Linked DNA regions of Homo sapiens: region 2 is linked to region 1. Evidence: promoter capture Hi-C in human tissues and cell types (Jung and others, 2019). All regions are on one chromosome and are shown on one strand. Each heading gives the region's core, a stretch centred on a gene start or on the middle of the fragment in contact. The rest is flanking DNA. Distances are from core to core; before and after follow the strand shown. Region 1 holds the start of OR4D6 (olfactory receptor family 4 subfamily D member 6). Region 2 has its middle 29 kb from the start of MPEG1.

Region 1 (7,158 bases), core at 2,241-4,740:
ATTCTTCACCTGCCTGATTCCCACATACCTATGAAAACCTCTCTCTACCTTAGTAACCAATGTATTTCCCATCACATTCCACAAGGGATCAGGGAGATCTTGCAGCAATAACAAAGAACTACCTACAGTAAAACAATAGAATGTAAATAAGGAACTGTTAAGAGGCTACATGTGAAAAATTATGGAGTAGAAAATTAAGTCACTCATACGTTTTTGAATGTATGAAAGCCAAAGCAAAGATACATAGTCAGGGCCTGGCGCGGTGGCTCACGCCTGTAATCCCAGCACTTTGGGAGGCTGAAGTGGGTAGATCACCTGAGGTCAGGAGTTCCGGACCAGCCTGGCCAACATTGCAAAACCCTGTCTCTATTAAAAATACAGAAATTAGCCAGGCATGGTGGCGCGTGCCTGCAATCCCAGCTACTTGGGAGGATGAAGCAGGAGAATTGCTTGAACTGGGAGGCGGAGGTTGCAGTCAGCCAAGATCGCACCACTGCACTCCAGCCTGGGCAACAGAGCAAGACTCTGTCTTAAACACACACACACACACACACACACACACAAAGATACGCAGTCAGTTACACAATTCTTATTGCCTCAAAAAAGAACGCACATTGATGTCCCACGGGAGCTCTGCCTTGCACTTGGGTCTAGGATAACTGTCTTCTTTGGAGTCTCCTGGGAAGAACCAAATAGATCTTGGCCTGAGTACAATCCAAAGATGGATGCTTCTCCTTGTAGACACTCTAATAAAAGGCAATAACATAATTCCAAATACATTGTACCAGTTAGTGTGTTACTGGATGCTGGCATATTAAAGTAAGATTTCTTTTGGGCTGTATACCTTAAATATGTGCAATTTTTAAAAGACTGTAAAAAGTTTTTTAATTAAAAATAAATAAATAAAAATAAAAGAGGCAACTCACTTCCACAGGAATGAAATTATTCTAATGGTGGAAACATCAGGGATCTAAGAAGATCACAAGATTTTTGTTTAAGAGGAATTCTGTATGTTCTAACCCCTCAAACTAAACTATAAAATACACTCAACTGTAAGAGAACTGAAATGAGAAAAATTAAGAACTATGTTTCTTATGGAATACTTTCTTTTGCTTTTATTTCAGGGAAAATGCTGTATCCTTTTTTCATCTGGTATACTGTCTTCTTTCTTTTCCTATCTTTCTCAGACATAATTATGTTTTTTTCCAATGCCAATTGCCTACTTTTTATTGTTGAATTAGATTTTGGTCATCTCAATTATTTAAATTTTTTTTTTTTTTTTGAGGCAGAGTATCACTCCGTCGCCCAGGCTGGAGTTCAGTGGCGCAATCTTGGCTCACTGCACACTTTGCCTCCTGGGTTCATGCCATTCTCCTGCCTCAGCCTCCCGAGTAGCTGGGACTACAGGCGCCCACCACCACACCTGGCTAATTTTTTGTATTTTTAGTAGAGATGGGGTTTCACCATGTTAGTCAGGATGGTCTCGATCTCCTGACCTCGTGATCTGCCTGCCTCGTCCTCCCAAAGTGCTGGGATTACAGGCGTGAACCACCGCACCCGGCCCCTTAAATTTTTTAAAATCATCTAGAATATGAGTCCTTGGAACATACAGATATTCTTTTGTTTCACATGCCTGCTGTATCAAATGGTTTGGGGGCGGGGTTGTTGTTTTGTAGAGACAGGGACTTGCTCTGTCACCCAGGCTGCAGTACAATGGCACAATCATAGCTCACTGCAGCCTCGAATTCCTGGGCTCAAGCGATCCCCCCACTTCAGCCTCCTGAGTAGCTGGGACTGCAGGTGCACACCACCATGCCTGGCTAATTTTTTTTTAATTTGTTGTTGTTGTTAAGACAGGGTCTCACTATTGTCCTGGCTGGTCTCAAACTCCTGAACTCAAGCAATCTGCCTGCCTTGACCTCCCAAAGTGCTGGGATTACAGGCATTAGCCACTGCACCTGGTTCATACAGATATTCTTACTGAAAGAAGTTTGTCCTCATATGACTGAATTTCTGATTTGGGAAAAAGAAGTATCAATATAGTAAATTGCTATTATATAGCAATAGTAGAATATCCCTGGAATTTGAGTCAACAAACCTGTTTACAGTTCTCTATATTTCACCAATTCAAACTCTGATTCTGAAAAAAATAAATGTCCTTCTCTAGTCACTTCTAAAGTAAGAAACATTAGACTAATTTATCTCTGAAGTCCTGTGACGCTCTAATGATCAGTTTTTCTGTGATACTAAAACATGCCCTGAACAATGACTGTGGCTCTATACAAAGAGCCCTGTGTGTCAATAGCAAGGTCCAGGCTTCCCAGAGTGCCAAAGAGGAGTACTTATGAGGGCCTGACCCTTCTCTTTTTATAAGGGATGAGATAAGGATTAGGTAGTCAAACTACTTAATAAACTGTTTAAGCCTTATATACACACTAGAATTCCGGTAAGCCAAAGTAAGCCCCAGACTCTCTGATTTCTCAGAGTTGTACAGTGGAAAAACCTCTGGAGACTGTTATGTTAAAGAAAAATTATTCACCAGACAATTATTAAAGACAGGAAGATAGATTTCATTTAAAACTCTTGCAATAGAAGAAAAAGATTGAGCTCAACTCGAAATATAGTGAAAACAAGTGAAGATTTATAAGCAATGAGCAGAGTGAGGGAGGTCAGTGGATTGAAAATTACTAAGAAGTGATATCAAAGGTAGGGTGGTTCTTGCTAAACTGGCATAAAAGAATTCTTGCTAAAGACTGGCCAAGGACTTAGATATTGAGGGTGAGGGATGAGGTTAAAAATAATAAATATATAAAAGGGTAAGGGGTGAGGAATTTGATTAGATTTCAAGGGTGTGGAATTCTCATTAAACTGACTTGGCAAGATTCCTGTTAAAATTGGGCTCAGCAAAGACAGACACAGAAGGTCAAGGTTGAGTCATAGTCAAGAAAAGGGCTCAGAGGAGCCTAACCAACATTTGGTCAAGGAGGGAATCTTTCTCAAGTCAGGAGATTGATTTGTATTTGAATCCTCAATTTACAATTCACTAATTTTGCGACTATGCAGATGTAAGTCATTAACTGCTGTAAAGCTTCAGTTTCCCCGTATATAAAATGGAGATAACCATACTAAAGACTCTTCAGAAACTTCATGAGAATTGAAATCAGTATGAGCTATTGCAGGTGAAAGCCCTTGGTAAAGCATAGGCAAATGGCCATAGTCCATCCATCTCTCTCTGGTCAGAGTGAGGATACAGACATGTGATGGTTTTTTCCTGTTAACCCAAGGTATTTACAATAAGAAAGAAGAACCATATGAAAGAAGAATTTCCAGACCACAAAGAGAAGACTGGCCCAGTTTTTCTGTGTAGTCATGATGACCTGGATGCTTGAGAGCAGTATGTGATCAATGATTTTGCCACCTCATGTCACCATAATCCAAGTTCTAACATATCTTCATCAAAGGTAGGACCTGGAAGAGAGTCATCCCCATCATGGACCAGATCAACCACACTAATGTGAAGGAGTTTTTCTTCCTGGAACTTACACGTTCCCGAGAGCTGGAGTTTTTCTTGTTTGTGGTCTTCTTTGCTGTGTATGTAGCAACAGTCCTGGGAAATGCACTCATTGTGGTCACTATTACCTGTGAGTCCCGCCTACACACTCCTATGTACTTTCTCCTGCGGAACAAATCAGTCCTGGACATCGTTTTTTCATCTATCACCGTCCCCAAGTTCCTGGTGGATCTTTTATCAGACAGGAAAACCATCTCCTACAATGACTGCATGGCACAGATCTTTTTCTTCCACTTTGCTGGTGGGGCAGATATTTTTTTCCTCTCTGTGATGGCCTATGACAGATACCTTGCAATCGCCAAGCCCCTGCACTATGTGACCATGATGAGGAAAGAGGTGTGGGTGGCCTTGGTGGTGGCTTCTTGGGTGAGTGGTGGTTTGCATTCAATCATCCAGGTAATTCTGATGCTTCCATTCCCCTTCTGTGGCCCCAACACACTGGATGCCTTCTACTGTTATGTGCTCCAGGTGGTAAAACTGGCCTGCACTGACACCTTTGCTTTGGAGCTTTTCATGATCTCTAACAACGGACTGGTGACCCTGCTCTGGTTCCTCCTGCTCCTGGGCTCCTACACTGTCATTCTGGTGATGCTGAGATCCCACTCTGGGGAGGGGCGGAACAAGGCCCTCTCCACGTGCACGTCCCACATGCTGGTGGTGACTCTTCACTTCGTGCCTTGTGTTTACATCTACTGCCGGCCCTTCATGACGCTGCCCATGGACACAACCATATCCATTAATAACACGGTCATTACCCCCATGCTGAACCCCATCATCTATTCCCTGAGAAATCAAGAGATGAAGTCAGCCATGCAGAGGCTGCAGAGGAGACTTGGGCCTTCCGAGAGCAGAAAATGGGGGTGAGCAGTCAGATGGAGAGTGGAAGTCTGTCTGACTTAGTTTTCTCAAAATGCTAGCCTAAGAGTAACAGGTCGCTAGCTCTTCTTCCACTACTTCATTGTATATCTTCATAGCCGCTCGATTCTATTAGCGGGAGTATACAAACAAAAAGAAGAAATGAGATTAAACAATGTGAGCTATCGAGCTTGTGGACTCAGGAGAAGAAGAGGGTATAAGGTTGAAATCAATACCCTAAATGCTTTTTGGTGTTACCTGTGACTCATACCAACACTTATCTCACTTTTAGCACCAGTAATATGGAAATATCATTACTTGCTCACAAGTTTGTCAAAAGAATGAAATGTGATCAATGCTGTGAGGATGATAGTTGTGAAGGTTAGTACTGCTCCTGGCATTAATCAGGTATTCAATCAACATTCCCTATTACCTACCCCTCTCTTCCTAAATGTGCATATACACAGAATATAGACACATTTATTTCATATATGCTTTCTCTGGTGACTCTGCTATATCCAGTCAATTATTGAAATCACTTGATTTTATTTTATTTTATTTTATTTTATTTTATTTTATTTTTTTGGGACGGAGTCTTGCTCTGTTGCCCAGGCTGGAGTGCAGTGGCGCGATCTTGGCTCACTGCAAACTCCACCTCCTGGGTTCACGCCATTCTCCTGCCTCAGCCTCCTGAGTAGCTGGGACTACAGGCGCCCGCCATGACGCCCGGCTAATTTTTTGTATTTTTAGTAGGGATGGAGTTTCACCATTTTAGCCAGGATGGTCTCAATCTCCTGACCTCGTGATCCACCCGCCTCGGCCTCCCAAAGTGCTGGGATTACAGGCGTGAGCCACTGCGCCTGGCCTTGATTTTATATTTTAAGTACAGAATCTTAAGTATATTTCACCAATTAGTGAAAATGGAAGGAATATTTTAAACTGTAAGTCAAATATGTACATGGACAAATTTATACATGGACCAAGTATTTCCTGTTCTCAGGTCTAGTCTACTGATTTACCAGCTGAAATTAAAAAGATGCTTGTATAGTTTTGGTACATACATGCGCAGAGACAATTTTTTTTATGTTAACCTGAACTTCCTTTTCTTCTTTATACCCTCCTTACATTTCACCCTCAGGGCTTTTATGACTGGAATAAAACCGTAGTTTTTGTTTATGTATGGGTAGACAATTCAAGACAAATCATGGTGGTTCAAGAAAACAAAACCTGTCTAATAAATACACTTTATGCCTTCATGGCCCACTTTTTGTTCCAGGAGAGAAAAGAAACACATTGTATTCGGGGTCATTTGGGAATAGCCACTGGGTCTGTGTTAGAATCCACCTCTCTCTCAAGGGAAGGATTCCAAGAGAGTAGATATCTAAAGACAATGAATCCTCCTTCTTCCTCTATACTCACCTCAAATCCACCCTTCAGCCTTCAACAGTCATTCAAAAATTATCCAAGAGAAGTAAGGAAGCTCAAGAAATTGCAACACATTGAAAAAAGTTTTGCGAGGTACCAAACTGTTATAACGCATTAATATTTGGCCAAGAAGATCCTAGTAGTTGACATACATCCATGATCCTCCCTGAGTCCTACAAGACAGAGATATTGAGCCAAGACTCCGCATCAGCTCCCCCTGCAGCCCCAAGGGCCTAGAGTCGCAGCTACTCATGGCAAAAGGATCATTTGAACCCAGGAGTTGGAGACCAGCTTGGACAATACTGCAAGACCTTGTTTCCACACACACAAAAAAAATTATTAGCCCCCTCAGGGAGCTTTATTCGCTATTTTTCCTAATTGCTCCCTTATGAGGAAATTCAATACCAAAAATATACTGTATATATTTATGTGTACTGAGGCCATACATCATTGTAATATATAAGTTTTGTTGCTCCCCTGAGAACAAATTGTCTCTTTGGGCATGTCAGGCTCTCATTGAGTATGAATGATTATATGACATTAGATGTTTCCAGAGACCAATATTTCCCCAAAACTCAGAGAATCACAGAATAGGTAGATTCATGTCCATGTGTTCTGGGGCCTTGCAAGAATTTAGAAAGCAGAGAAACGGCATCCTTGTGCGTGTCTGTGTGTATGTATGTGTGTGTGTGTGTGCATATGTGTGGACTTGCTTGCAGTAATAACTTGGAAACTGTTTAATAACTCCCTCTGGAACTCTGACACTACCAGAAGAATGCCCATTCTATTTCCACACTCACATCCAATAAAATTTCCTTTGCTAATTCTCATATTAGGCCTGAGCCTGAGACATTAGTGCACGTAGCAAGGACATTTTAAGCCAAAGAGAAGAGCCAACAATGATGTAACTCTCTTAGTCAGCCCTTTCCAACATGAAGGCTGAAGAGAAGACATTGAAATCTGGTATAATTTATTTTCAGGAGGACTTTGCCTTCAAGCACCATATTTCCCCACCATTATATATGCTGAGGCCCAGCTACCCAGTCTCAGATGGTGTAAATTCATGTTGGACACTGAAGGATTTAGGTAAGAATATTGAACTGTCAGAGTGTGAGATATTATGGATTATACATGAATATGATGAGCATGAAAAATGTGTCAAGTGTCTAAGATATGGCAAAAATAGTTGAAAACTTTAGCAACAGGAAACCAAAAAAAAATGGATGTTAAACACCGGGAAATAAGTAATATCTTCATGGAAAGGAACCACAGCAATGGGGTCAGCATAATAAAAGAGAAGGCAGTTT
Region 2 (7,279 bases), core at 4,187-6,686, 210 kb before region 1:
TACAAAAACAGGCACATAGACCAATGGAACAAAATAGAGAACTCAGAAATAAACCCACACATCTACAACCATCTGATCTTTGATAAACCTGACAAAAACAAGCAATGGGGAAATGATTCCCTATTTAGCAAATGTTGCTGAGAAAACTGGCTAGCCATATGCAGAAAATTGAAACTGGACTCCTTCTTTACACATTATACAAAAATTGACTCGAGTTGGATTAAAGACTTAAAAGTAAAACCCAAAACTATAAAAACTCTAGAAGAAAATCTAGGCAATGCAATTCAAGACATAGGCATGGGGAAAGATTTTATGATGAAATTGCCAAAAGCAATAGCAACAAAAGCAAAAAGTGACAAATGGGATCTAATTAAACTAAAGAACTTCTGCACAGCAAAAGAAACTACCATCAGAGTGAACAGAAAACCTACAGAATGAGAGAAAAATTGTGCAATCTATACATCTGACAAAGGTCTAATATCCGGAGTCTACAAGGAACTTAAGCAAATTTACAAGAAAACAAACAACCCCATTAAAAAGTTGACAAAGGACATGAACAGACACTTCTCAAAAGAAGACATATATGTGGCCAACAAATATATGAAAAAAGCTTATCATTGATTATCAAATGCAAATCAAAACCACCCTTCTCACATCAGTCAGAATGGCGATTATTAAAAAGTCAAGAAACAACAGATGCCAGTTAAATTGTGGAGAAGTGGGAATGCTTTTACACACATTTGGTGGGAATTTAATGTAATGTTCAACCTTTGTGGAAGACAATGTGGTGATTCCTCAAAGATTTAGAACCAGAAATATCATTTGACCCAGCAATCCTATTAGTGGGTATATGTCCAAAGAAATATAAATACTTCTACTATAAAGACACATGCATGTGTATGTTTATGCAGCACTATTCACAATAGCAAAAACATGGAGTCAACCCAAATGCCCATCAATGATAGACTGAATAAAGAAAATGTGGTACATATACACCATGGAATACTATGCAGCCATAAACAAAAGGAGATCGTGTCCATTGCAGGTACATGGATAAAGCTAGAAGCCATTATCCTCAGTAAACTAATGCAGGAACAAAAACTCAAACACTGCATATTCTCACTTATAAGTGGAAGCTGAACAATAAGAACACACGAACATGGGGAGGGGAACAACACACACTGGGGCCTGTCAGGGGAGGACACAGATGATGATAGCATTAGGGAAAATAGCTAATACATACTGGGCTTAATACATAGGTGATGGGTTGATAGGTGGCAGCAAACCACCGTGGCACATATTTACCTATGTAACAAACCTGCACATGTACACCAGAACTTAAAACAATAACATAATACAAAATAAAACAGCTGAGTCTTCTCTGTTATTGGTGAAAATGTCTGTGTAATTCACTTTAAGGTTCTTATTTCAGTGAACACTTGATATCCATAGATTATAAAATGGTTAACAAGGAAATGTCTGAGTTTAAATGATGGTGTCTAACACCTCAGTTTTCAGAAGTAACCTAAATAAACTGTTAAAAATGAAATAATTGAGTACCTATAAATAGGATAAATGTTTTAGGTAAACTTTTTGTGTAATTTAAAATCTGAAAATTATTTTTGATGCTCATTGAATATCTGGATCACTTCCAATTATGAAAGGGTTGTGATATGGGGAAATATGTTTCTAAAAATTGTGGAATTGTTTTTATCTATAAAATGCTCATATCTGACAGTTCAAGATTTCTTGCTTTTAAGGGTTTCACTAAAAGTTAAGGCTACTAAGGACAAGAATTATAGTTAATATATAATTCTATACATAAAATGTGCCAAAAGATGTGCTATTAATGGGAAAAATAATAAAAATTAAAAGTTAGTTCAATTTACATATTTGAAAAAGTTACTTATGACACAAGGTAGTAAGAAATCTGTAAGTAGGTCAAAGAGATAGGAAGACAGTTATGCTTACAAAGATGTATTTTTGGTAAGGAAGGTTATAAAGAAAATGTAATAATTTTTATGAGAAAGGATCTTGTATGGTAAATTTTTTTGGCCTAGAGTAAAATGACTGGTTATCTAAAGAAGAAGAAGAAAATCTGGGACTGAACAGAAAGCCCAGGCATGTCATGGATGGTCTGTGTAAGTCATATATAATTTTTTTGTTTCTCTGTGTGTCTATCTTCATGCAGATAGAGTGAAACTAGAAAGCTGAAAAAGTTTAGATAATAAAATATTATTTAAAACATGATAAGGATTTGTAGAAATTTGGCTAATTAACATTCTCATATTTAAAACTCTTAGTCTTGATTAAAGTAAAATAAGAAATATTGTAAAGAAATGCATTGGCAGTTTGGTGATTCTTTTTCAGTGCAGATAAGCATGAAGCCAGATTTAGTGTAGAGCCAAATTTCACATATCTGCTTGCATTGCTTCATATGATGTTTACTGTTTTGCATGGATATTGCTGGCACTGGAGTATTTACTGATCATGTACCTAGAGTGAATATCTTGATTTCACAGGATTTATTGTGATATTGGTAGACTTAAAGATATTAAATTGTGTATCAGGAATAAAATATTCATTCTATAGGCTTTTTAGGCTCTAGGCAACATGTTAACCTCCAACATAAACTGAGTAGGAAAAATTTAGGGTTGGTTTTCTGTTTATTTGTTTTTGCTTCTAAATTTTCATTTGTTTGCTGTTTTTTTCTCCTTTGGGTTGGCTTGTGTATTCATATATATAAAACCATTGTGGCTTTTTTTTAGTTTCTGGGGGAAGGTTTTTATTTTGTTCTGTGAACAGTTATTTTGTTTCCTGTGCATTTCTCGCAAGTCATCAATTGTTCTCTTTATCTGGAATTCCTAGGCTATATTTGTTGGGCCTGTAGGAATTGACAGAGCACAACAGCCATTTAGAATTTACTTGGTTTTACTGGCCTCTGATGATCTAGAGAGCTATGAGAGCTTTAATGCTCCTGGCAAAAGAAAATTACATAAAAGATTTTTAAATAAGTTCTGAACAGAAATTGTACATTATTTATTATTTGAAAAAGTAGGTGAGAATAAAAATGTTTAAATGATGTTTATTTCCAAGGTAATTCAATTCAATTAATAATTTGAGTAGGTTTCACATCTTTCCCTTTAGGTAATGAAGAAATACTATGATATGGCTACAAAGTTTTAATATTCAAAAAAGATTGGCCTTGTCATTAGAGAAATTATATTGATTGGGATTTCTCTCAAACTAATCTAGTTGTATTCACCATTATTAAAATTAAGTGACACTCAATTGGACTAAGTAGCAATAAAAATATGAGACTTCCTAGTGATTTTTTTTTATCCCAAGCCATTTACTACTGATGGGCCTTGATGTGTGTGCTTGAAAACAAAACATATGCAAGTGTTAGACTGGTTTGAAGATTTGGGTGGTGAAAGTTAGCTAATTAGATGTCAGTGCTCTATCTAGAAGCCAATCTTGGAAATATGTGATAATGCCCTTTTAAAATAGCTGAAAAGAAATTATTTTGTGTTTGTTTTCACTTCATTCTTGTTTGGTTGTATAGCATTTAAGTGAAAGGAGATTTTTTATCCTTATACTAGTATTTGCATTTACCATCTTTTAATGATGGAGAGAAAAGTTAGTTGTCTTACTTTGATATGTTTGGCATAGGACCTATGACACTTTTGATGTTTTTGGTCACAGTTCTGTCACTAGAATGCTAGCAATTAGATATATGCAATGAGTAACCTACTTTAATACAATGGTTTGAAGTACCACAGGCAGTAACTCCTAAACACCAAATCACAGTGTTTTAATTTGTAACATGTTAAAGAGAATAATCAGACTTTCTGTAGTACAAATATCTTATTAACTACTGCTTGTGCTGGTAAGTTACAGGGCTTTGACTCCTGGGTTGGAAAAAGGCAATAACCCCTGCTAAATTATGAACATTAACACCAGTTGAAGCATCATCATCAGACTCAGGAGAAGAGCGCCATCAAAATGAACTGCTTTTGTGAAACACAAGACTAGAAATTAAACTATTCAATCCCTCTAGGCCCCAGGACTATCATGGAAGAGGTGGGCCTGTGAGATTGTAAGGGCCCATCTGATGGACTAGATTAGTTCAAAGATTTTCTATAATTAAACATTAATATAAAAAGGACACTAATGAAAGACCAGAATCTGGGCCCATGTGTTACAATAACAGGGCTTTCTTGGAGCATTGATCTGATGTTTAATAGAAAATTGAAAAAGGTGATAAAAAATTATGGAAATCTTGCCTTATGGTCAAACTGATTAAAATTAGATTTGTTTATAAGGTTTTATTAAAATTAGTTTTAACATTAGTAATGCACCACACAAAGGTAAAATCTTGGTTTTCACTTTTGAACAAAGTGTTTGTTCAAATATTAAGAGATAAAAGATTTTGTTTACCTCTTGAGTGAACTGCAGGGAGAAAATGGAGGGGAAAGAGACAGATTTAGTTGGCCTCATGCTGTCTTAAGTATTAGGTCTTACTGTTTGGGAAACTGTGTTTCCTTTCTATGGAAGAGTAAATGTTTTTGTATTATAATTTTGGCTATCTGAATGGCAATTTTATAGTAACTTGTGATCTTGTTTTGTGATATTGAGTGTCAGTGAGACCTTTGAAATCTGACAGACTTTCCAACAGCAAATTTTCGAGTTTTAAATTCAGTCTTTTGACCTCAAATTTTTTGGATCTTAAGTTTCCTGAAGTTCAAGAGAGACATGTTGGGCTTATTAGACTTATTTGTAATGTTAGAATTATACAGGAAGCATTATCAAATCTGAGATGTATTTCATTTCCTTTGAGTTATATTTATATAGATGTATTATTAATATGTGTTCCAGGATTATATGAGATTCCTAAAATTCTGATATGTCTTAATATAGGTTGTCAGTAACAATAAAAAATAATCATATATTGTTGTATACCACATTTCCTTGTCAACTATGTCTTTTATCTGTGGCTGTCTTAAGACTTTTGTCATCCATCATTGATGTTTTGCTTTGATCCTTCTCAATAAATGTGACTTATAATAAGCAGTCCAATGCTTGCTTCTCTGGAGGAAATCATGAAAGGACTCTTGAATACAAGTTTCTGATAACTTTGGAGATTGTGTCGTTGAATTAGAGAGAAAACTTCCAGGGTACCAATTGAAAGGCTGTGTGTTCATAAAGATTGCTAACCTAACATGAAGTAGAGTAGGAGTTGATTGCATGGACTGAACTAATGAAAGACAGAAATTATTTTTATGGCTTTTGTTGTTCCAAATATTGCAATTCTTTTTGTTTTGTGTCTAAAGTCTGGAGAATCTTTTTCTTTTGAGTTATTTATAGCCTTGAAATATACTTTAAGTGTATTGAGTATGCTTTTTTAAACAGAATTTGAGTCATTTCCCTCTCTCTGACTAATTTCTCCAGAATTTGTAAACTATTTGTGAATATCATTAATTCATGGCAATGGGTTTGTTTGCATAGAGTAAATAACCACATGTTTTCTTTTGTAATGTAACACAGTTGAAGGAACTGGTTATTTTCTCAGGGCTTTGACTGACATGGTCTTGTGAGATGTTCCAAGAAAGCCAGTTTAGAAGAGACTATATGCACAACGATTCTTGTTGCACTTTGTCTGGGTAATCAGGACAAGTATATGGGACTGAAGCTTATTTTGCAGGTAGATTGGTTCTGCTGTGATTTGTCTTTGGTGGAACTGGTGGACTGGAGACAGAACTATTATATGTCTCAAAATTAATATAGCTCCCAACAACCAACTCCTTATTATACCTTTAACTGCAACCACCAGATACAAATGAGCCATCCAACTCATACCCCTTTTTGTAGGGCTACTAATAACAGCAGGAGTAGGATTGGAAGTTAGCGGGATTGCAACTTCCCTATCCTACTACCAATGGTTGTCCAAGGGTTTTATGGAAAGCTTGAATGACATTGCCCAGAGTATTGTAACATTATGAAAACAAATAAACCCCTTGGCAGTGATTGCTTTGCAAAATAGAAGGAGACTAGATCTTCTAACTGCCTCCTGGGTTCATGCCATTCTCCTGCCTCAGCCTCCCGAGTAGCTGGGACTACAGGCACCTGCCACCACGCCTGGCCAATTTATTGTATTTTTAGTAGAGACGGGGTTTCACCATGTTAGCCAGGATGGTCTTGATCTCCTGACCTCGTGATCTGCCCGCCTCGGCCTCCCAAAGTGCTGGGATTACAGACATAAGCCATCGCGCCCGGCCGTTTGTTAAATATTTTAAGCAAATTCTTTTCCTCTCGCCTAGAGACCATTAAGCTTTAGATGATCATGTGAGAAGGTTTCCACACAGTTCCAGGTGAAGACACCACCAGCCATCAAGAAGCTACCCTGTCCCCACCAGACAGAGCAGGATGAGAGTACTGTGATCCCCAATATGTAGGGACTGCTCCCGAAGTCAGCATGAAGCAGTTACAGAAGAAAGACCCTTGGTTCCTCTGCCTCCCATAAAGGTTTATGGGGATCATGTCTCTCAGGGGGGAAATGAGGCAGGAGAATAGGGTCTGGAGTCAGGGAATCTAAGGACTTCCTAGAACTAAATCAAATAGAAACCCCAACTTTCTATATCCAAGTCAATAACTTTGTAACTTGACTTCAGCTATGTCAGGAAACATCCTCTTCTTTTGCATAGGGTATACACCAAATCAATAACTTTGTAATTTCACTTCATCCTCTTCACTTACATAGGGTATAAACCAAGTAACCAATGGGAAACCTCTAGAGGGTATTTAAATCCCAGAAAATTCTGTAACCATCGCTCTTGAGCCACTTACTTTAACCAGCTCCCACTCTGTGGAGTGTACTTTCATTTCAACAATCTGTAATTTTCTTTTATTGCTTTGTTTATGCATTTTGTCTAATTCTTTGTTCAAAATGCTAAGAACCTGGACACCCTCCACTGGTTACAATAGGACTATGTTATTGATATAACTGCAATGGCCGAGCATGGTGGCTGATGCCTGTAATCCCAGCATTTTGGGAGGCTGAGGAGTGCAGATCGCTTGAGGTCAGGAATTTGAGACCAGCCTGGCCAACATGGTGAAACCCCATCTCTACTAAAAGAATATGTAAAAATTAATCAGGTGTGGTGTTGGGCACTGTAATCCCAGCTACTCAGGAGGCTGAGGCAGGAGAATCTCTTGAACTCAGGAGGGGGAGGTTGCAGTGAGCCGAGATTGTGCCACTGCACTCCAGCCTGGGAGACAC

The links. Contacts are between HindIII fragments. The study calls those that stand out against the background at their distance.
Region 2: a contact is called between a fragment that was not itself captured here and the fragment with the promoter of OR4D6 in region 1, in 2 of the 25 tissues and cell types used here (mesendoderm cells and neural progenitor cells).

Annotation. Positions count from the first base shown.
Region 1 is chr11:59,453,471-59,460,628 of GRCh38, forward strand. OR4D6 (olfactory receptor family 4 subfamily D member 6) reads left to right here and starts at 3,491. Exons shown (of 1, transcript NM_001004708.1): 1 at 3,491-4,435. The coding sequence starts at 3,491. The coding sequence ends at 4,435. The HindIII fragment of the contact is 13,894 bases long and covers 556-7,158 here.
Region 2 is chr11:59,238,363-59,245,641 of GRCh38, forward strand. No RefSeq gene overlaps it. Among named protein-coding and RNA genes, the nearest start is that of MPEG1, 29 kb to the left of the region's middle. The HindIII fragment of the contact is 4,570 bases long and covers 3,152-7,279 here.